2 separate regions of the Homo sapiens genome follow, and region 2 is linked to region 1. The links are contacts of gene promoters, found by promoter capture Hi-C in human tissues and cell types (Jung and others, 2019). All regions are on one chromosome and are shown on one strand. Each heading gives the region's core, a stretch centred on a gene start or on the middle of the fragment in contact. The rest is flanking DNA. Distances are from core to core; before and after follow the strand shown.

Region 1 (2,700 bases), core at 1-2,500:
GCAGATAGGTGAGGCTGCAGTCACAGTGCCAGGGGTTCTGCGTCACATCGAGGGTCTGCAGCTGGGGCAGGTGGTCAAAGGCTCCCGGGGGCACGGACTGAAGGCTGTTGTTGGCCAGCAGAAGGTGGCGGGTGCGGGCCGGCAGGGCAGGCAGGGCCGTGAGTCCGTGGCCCCTGCAGTCCACCCACAGCCCCATGGTTTCCAGGGCGCGGCAGGTACATGGGCTGGGGCAGTCCTTGGTGGCCTCTGCTGTGGCCCAGAGCAGGAACAGGGCTCCCCAGGCAGGCATGGGACAGGCTGGCTGCAGAGAGAGGGGCTGTGAGGGAGGGCCTGGCAGCCTGGACCGATCCTCAGGGACGGCAAGCACTGGGGATGTAGCGGAGCCTGACATGGGACGGGGTGCACTCACCTCCCTTCTCGGGTCTCAGCCTTCTCCTCTGGGAAACCAGCTGGTGACTAGGGAAGGTGGAGTGTGCCCAGCCCAGGCCTGGCTAACTGTCTCTGGACACCGTAGAAGGCCGGGCGGTGAGGGCGGCTGTGGATTGGGTAAGTTTGTTTTTGGGAAGGGGAAGGGACTTCCTGGCCCTTAGCAGAGACCCCATCCCCTGCTTGGGGATGAGAGGAGCAGATGGCTGCTAAATGAGTCCCAGCCCAGGACCACAGTCCCCAGAGACTAGGAAAGAGCCTTGGAGGGCCCTGCAGGCTGCGCCCAGCACCCCCCACCAGCTAAGTGAGCTGTTACCTGATTCCCAGATGCAGAAGACAGCAGGACAGGGACACTGGCTGGAGCAGGGAGGGGAACTCAGTGGGACCCCATCTGGAAAACCACTCATCTGGGCTAACACTGACTTGGGGAAACTGAGGCCCAGAGAGGGAAAGCAATGTGCCCAGGGCCACCGGTGTGGTGTCAGAGGCCAGACTCACACTCGGGTCTCGGCAACCGTGGCCCTCTGTTTGGTTCTTCCCCACAGGCGTTTCCCCTCCACCAGCAGAGCTCCCCCTACCCACAGCAGGTTTCCAGTGAATAAGTGTCAAATCAACTCACTCATCTTGACTCAGCCAAGGAGATGGTGTCTCAGAGGGAATGTCCCACCCAACCCTGTCTTGTTAAAGGGACAGGAACTGACCTCCTCTCTCCCTGTGGGAGGCCATGCTGGGTAATACGGAGGGCCACTTACCTGTGAAGCCTTTGGTCAGGTGCTCCTGTCTGGCCTGAAAGGTCCTGGCTGAGGCCTGGGTGGCAACTCTATGGGATACAGCTGAGGTGGCCGCTGCGGGAGCGGGCGGAAGGAAGTGATGAAAATAGCCTGGCTTATCCCCCCAGTGCAGCCTTGGGGCCTATTTCCAGAGGCAGGAGGCCCTCAGGGGCCCGCGCCTTGGGCACAGAACCACATCTCAACCCCGGTTTATAGAAGGGGGTCCCACTGTGCCGCCAGTGCCTTGATGGGCTTTGGAATCAGGTCTGTGGAGGACTGAGGGTGGCCCCTCACCTGCTCCCAGAAGGTGGGAACTAGGAGACCCCTGAGAAACGTGGCTCTGCTGGTTGTTCCTCCGAATCTCAGTTTTCCTCATCTGTAAAGTGGGAGCAGTGACCGGTCCTGCCTGCCTCACAGAGGTGTGGGCTGGGCAGCTCCCACTGGCTGAGAACACCATGGTGGGGAGAGTGACTTCATTTTTAACTCTCCTCCCTCCTCCTGTATACTCAAGGACGGAGTCTCTTCTTGGTGCCATGGTGTTTTTAGCTCCTGCCTAGTGCTTCTCCATGCCTCTTTCTAACAAACAGCTGTAGGCCTGGGAAGCAGAGCCTCTACCAAGTGTGAATCTCTAGCTAGAATTTTGGCCTATGGTTTTAACATTTGCAGTACATTTTCTTCTAGAGCACATTCTACTTAGGGGAGGGACACCATTTTCCATTTATGTTAGTGACATAAAGCTTCCTTTAAAAGATAAATATATTTTGGGATGGAGAATTGCTTGAACCCAGGAGGCAGAGGTGGCAGTGAGCCGAGACCGTGCCATTGCACTCCAGCCTGGGTGACAGAGCGAGACTCCGTCTTAAAAAATAAATAAAACAGGGTAAAAACACAGAAGTTACAGAAGCCTGGCAGGAAAAGCCAAAGACAGAAGGCTGACGGAGGCTTTAAACGCACTTCGTTGACATTCAGGACCCTCGGGAATATTCCTCGGCCCTACGGGGGTGGGGGTGTGCTTGTTCTTATTTTGGTCTCACATCCTTCTCAGGCCAGCCTTCCTCCTCCTGCATGGCCAAGCAGGGTGAGTCCTTCCTTGGGAGGCCGCCTGTTCTCTCCCCGCCTCCTGGTTCTGGATTTGGGTAGGGCAGGATTTGGGTGTTCACCCTCCTAGGAGGCCCTGAGAGGCTGCCAGGCCCCAGCTCTGCTTCCTCCACCCACTGATGCTGGGCTCAGAGAAGGGTGGGGAAGGTGCTGTTCCCCCACTGATGTCACACCTGCTCGGGGGCCTGGTTGCTGCTGGGGGTCCCCTGGTATGTGCTCAGTGGGGACTCTGACCGGAGCCTGGACCATGGAGAGGAGCCTCAGCCTGTCTGGCCCTTCCCTCCCTCCCCATGGAGCCTTGGCATGTTCCACCTCCTCTGCCCTGCACACATTCACCAGTGAGCCCCACGCAGGTGGGTAAGGGGTTCTGGAGTGAGTGGGGGTGCTGGAGCTGCCAGGCCAGGTG
Region 2 (2,700 bases), core at 86-2,585, 130 kb after region 1:
GGCAGAGGGCACCCAGGAGGAGGCTTTGGGGCTGGGGAGGTCCTTGAGCTTTGCTGAGGACTCTCTCTCCAGCCTCCTCCTTCTCCTCTATTAACAGCCAGCCCCCTGAGGCTCGGTGTATGATGTCCTCCTGGTGCGGAAGGCTCTGTGCTCTACATCCCTGATGGGCAGCTGGTGGGGCTGTGTCCCGATGGGGTATGGGAGGAGGGGAAGCATGGCTAAGGACACAGGAACAGAGCAGCACTCAGAGCAAACCGTGGGCAGCCTTTGGCTTCTGGGGGCTGGGGAGAAGATGGAGAAGGAGGCTTTTGCCAGGAGCCCAGGCTCAGCAGACTGGAATTGGAGCTCTTTAGTCACAAGCTCCAGGACTTGGGACCAGCTAAGCAGCCTCTGAGTGTTCATTTCCTGCTGTAGGATGGGAGTGATTACACCTGTCTTGCAAGGTAGGAGAGGTTCAGTGGGGCAGTGGTTCTTTGTTCCAGGATCCACGACATCTGCTATAACAGCACCACCCTCTGGGACGTGACGGTGAGGGACCTGCTGCCCTCCTCTGCTATGATAAAAGACTTGAGCCAAGAGTTTGGGATGCCCCTTTCGCAAGAAGAACTCACAGATGAGAAACTGTTTGCCCTACCACCTCAGCCTGCCCCCAATCTTGAGGACTACCACAGTCGGAACTCCACCCTCACCTTAGAGATCCACGCCCACCAGGAGAAGTACCTGCAGTGGCGGAGTGCCATGCTTATGAAGAACAAAGACAAAAAGCACAGTTTCATCCAGGTGGGCCGCCTTCCTCCCCAACTTGGGGTTCCCAGGCCTCACCTGGGCGGTCCAGGCGCCTGCTGAGAGGCATAGGGCATATTCCTGAGTGGGACATTTGCCTCTGGTCGTGCCTGCGCTCCTGGCCTGGGCTACCCTGCTGGATGGGCAAGAAGTGCAGGATGTGGGGCTGAGCCATGTCAGAAACCTTCACTCCCAGTCCTAGATAACCTTGTCCTTCCTGAAAGGTGAGAAGGAATGCTATTAGCTATATTACCTTTACCATGGCTCCCAGAGTTCATTGTAGAGAAAGAACTGTGGCATGTGTGTGTGTGTGTGTGTAACATGTTGCTTACGCTGCTCAGGGCATAAGTGTCATAAGATGTCCAAGCAACATGGGACATAAACTAATCTGCATGACAGAGGGAGAGAATGGGAGACTGAGAAGCTGGTGAGGGGGTAGAAGGCTGGTGCTGTGTGGCCTGAATGGGCAAGGAGAACCTCGCTCACCCCATGCCAACCAAAAAGACATGAAAACACAGACATCTGTGGTATGACTTGGAGTTGTGTGCCTGTGGTCTGTGTGAAGGCCCTACCATCCCTGCAATTCTCCAGTTTAAAACAAAGACTCCTAGAAGCTTGTAAGCTTTGTATGTGTGCAGTCTTTATGAAAACCAAAGAACAGACTTCTTTTATGTTTTTTGAATCGGGGTCTCACTCTGTTGCCCAGGCTAGAGTACTATGACTTGATCATGGGTCACTGCAGCCTCCAACTCCTGGGCTCAAGCAGTCCTCCCACCTCGGCCTCCTGAGTAGGCAGGCATGCGCCACCACACCTGGTTAATTTTTTTTACTTTTTTTTTAGAGATTGGGTCTTGCTGTGTTGCCTAGGCTGGTCTCCAGCTCCTAGGCTCAAGGGATTCTCCTGCCTCGGCCTCCCAAAGTGTTGGGATTACAGGTGTGAGTCACTGTGCCTGGCTGTTTTTTCCATTAGTGGAAAAAACTTTTTAGCTTTTTCAAAAGAATCAGTTCTTGGATTTATCAATTCTGCTTTTTCTGTTTTTCTAATTCATTAACTTCAGCTTTTATTTTTATGATACTTTAAAACTTACACCTTTCTCCTTTTTTCTATCTTCTCTAGTTGGCTATTTCATTCATTTTTATTTCTCTTGTGTAATATATATATATATATACACATACATACATATATATACATATATACATATACATACATACATATATATACATGTATGTGTATATATATATACACACATATATATATCTCATACCACTTTGGGAGGCCGAGGTGGGCAGGTTGCTTAAGCTCAGGAGTTCGAGACCAGCCTGGGCAACATGGCGAAACCGTCTCTACAGAAAATTAGCTGGGCATGCTGGCATGTACTTGTAGTCCCAGCTACTCAGGAGACTGAAGCTTGAGCCTGGGAAGCACAGGTTGCAGTGAGCTGAGATCACGCCATTACATTCCAGCCTGGATGGCAGAGTGAGACCCTGTCTCAATGCGGCACAGTGCCTAATGCCTGTAATCCCAGCATTTTGGGAGGTTGAGGCGGTCAGATCCCTTGAGGCCAGGAGTTCGAAACCAGCCTGGCCAACATGGCAAAACCCGTCTCTACTAAAAATACTAAAATTAGCTGGGTGTCGTGGTGCACACTTGTAATCTCATCTACTTGGGAGGCTGAAGCAGGAGAATCACTTGAATCTGGGAGGTAAGGTTGCAGTGAGCCAAGATCGCGCCACTGCATTCCAGCACTCAGAGCAACAGAATGAGACCCTGTCTCAAAAAAACAAACAAACAAAAAAAGTCAAACAATGTTGAGAGTATTTGCAGTCTTCCTTATCCTACCTCTTAATGCACTTAGATATGTACAAGAATATATATTCATTTCATGGGTTAATATAATTTTGTTAATGCCACATAAC

Evidence for each region. The method cuts DNA at HindIII sites, captures the fragments that hold promoters and counts their contacts. A contact is called where the count stands out against the background at its distance.
Region 2: a fragment that was not itself captured here is called in contact with the fragment with the promoter of GP9 in region 1 in 3 of the 25 tissues and cell types used here (IMR-90 fibroblasts, aorta and spleen).

Annotation. Positions count from the first base shown.
Region 1 is chr3:129,059,329-129,062,028 of GRCh38, reverse strand. GP9 (glycoprotein IX platelet) reads right to left here and starts at 1,250. Exons shown (of 3, transcript NM_000174.5): 1 at 1,179-1,250; 2 at 410-535; 3 at 1-301. The coding sequence starts at 289. The HindIII fragment of the contact is 8,053 bases long and covers 1-2,700 here.
Region 2 is chr3:128,930,780-128,933,479 of GRCh38, reverse strand. CFAP92 (cilia and flagella associated protein 92 (putative)) reads left to right here. Exons shown (of 16, transcript NM_001394090.1): 12 at 483-780. Among named protein-coding and RNA genes, the nearest start is that of ACAD9, 53 kb to the right of the region's middle. RefSeq lists an enhancer at 765-1,266. The HindIII fragment of the contact is 4,812 bases long and covers 1-2,700 here.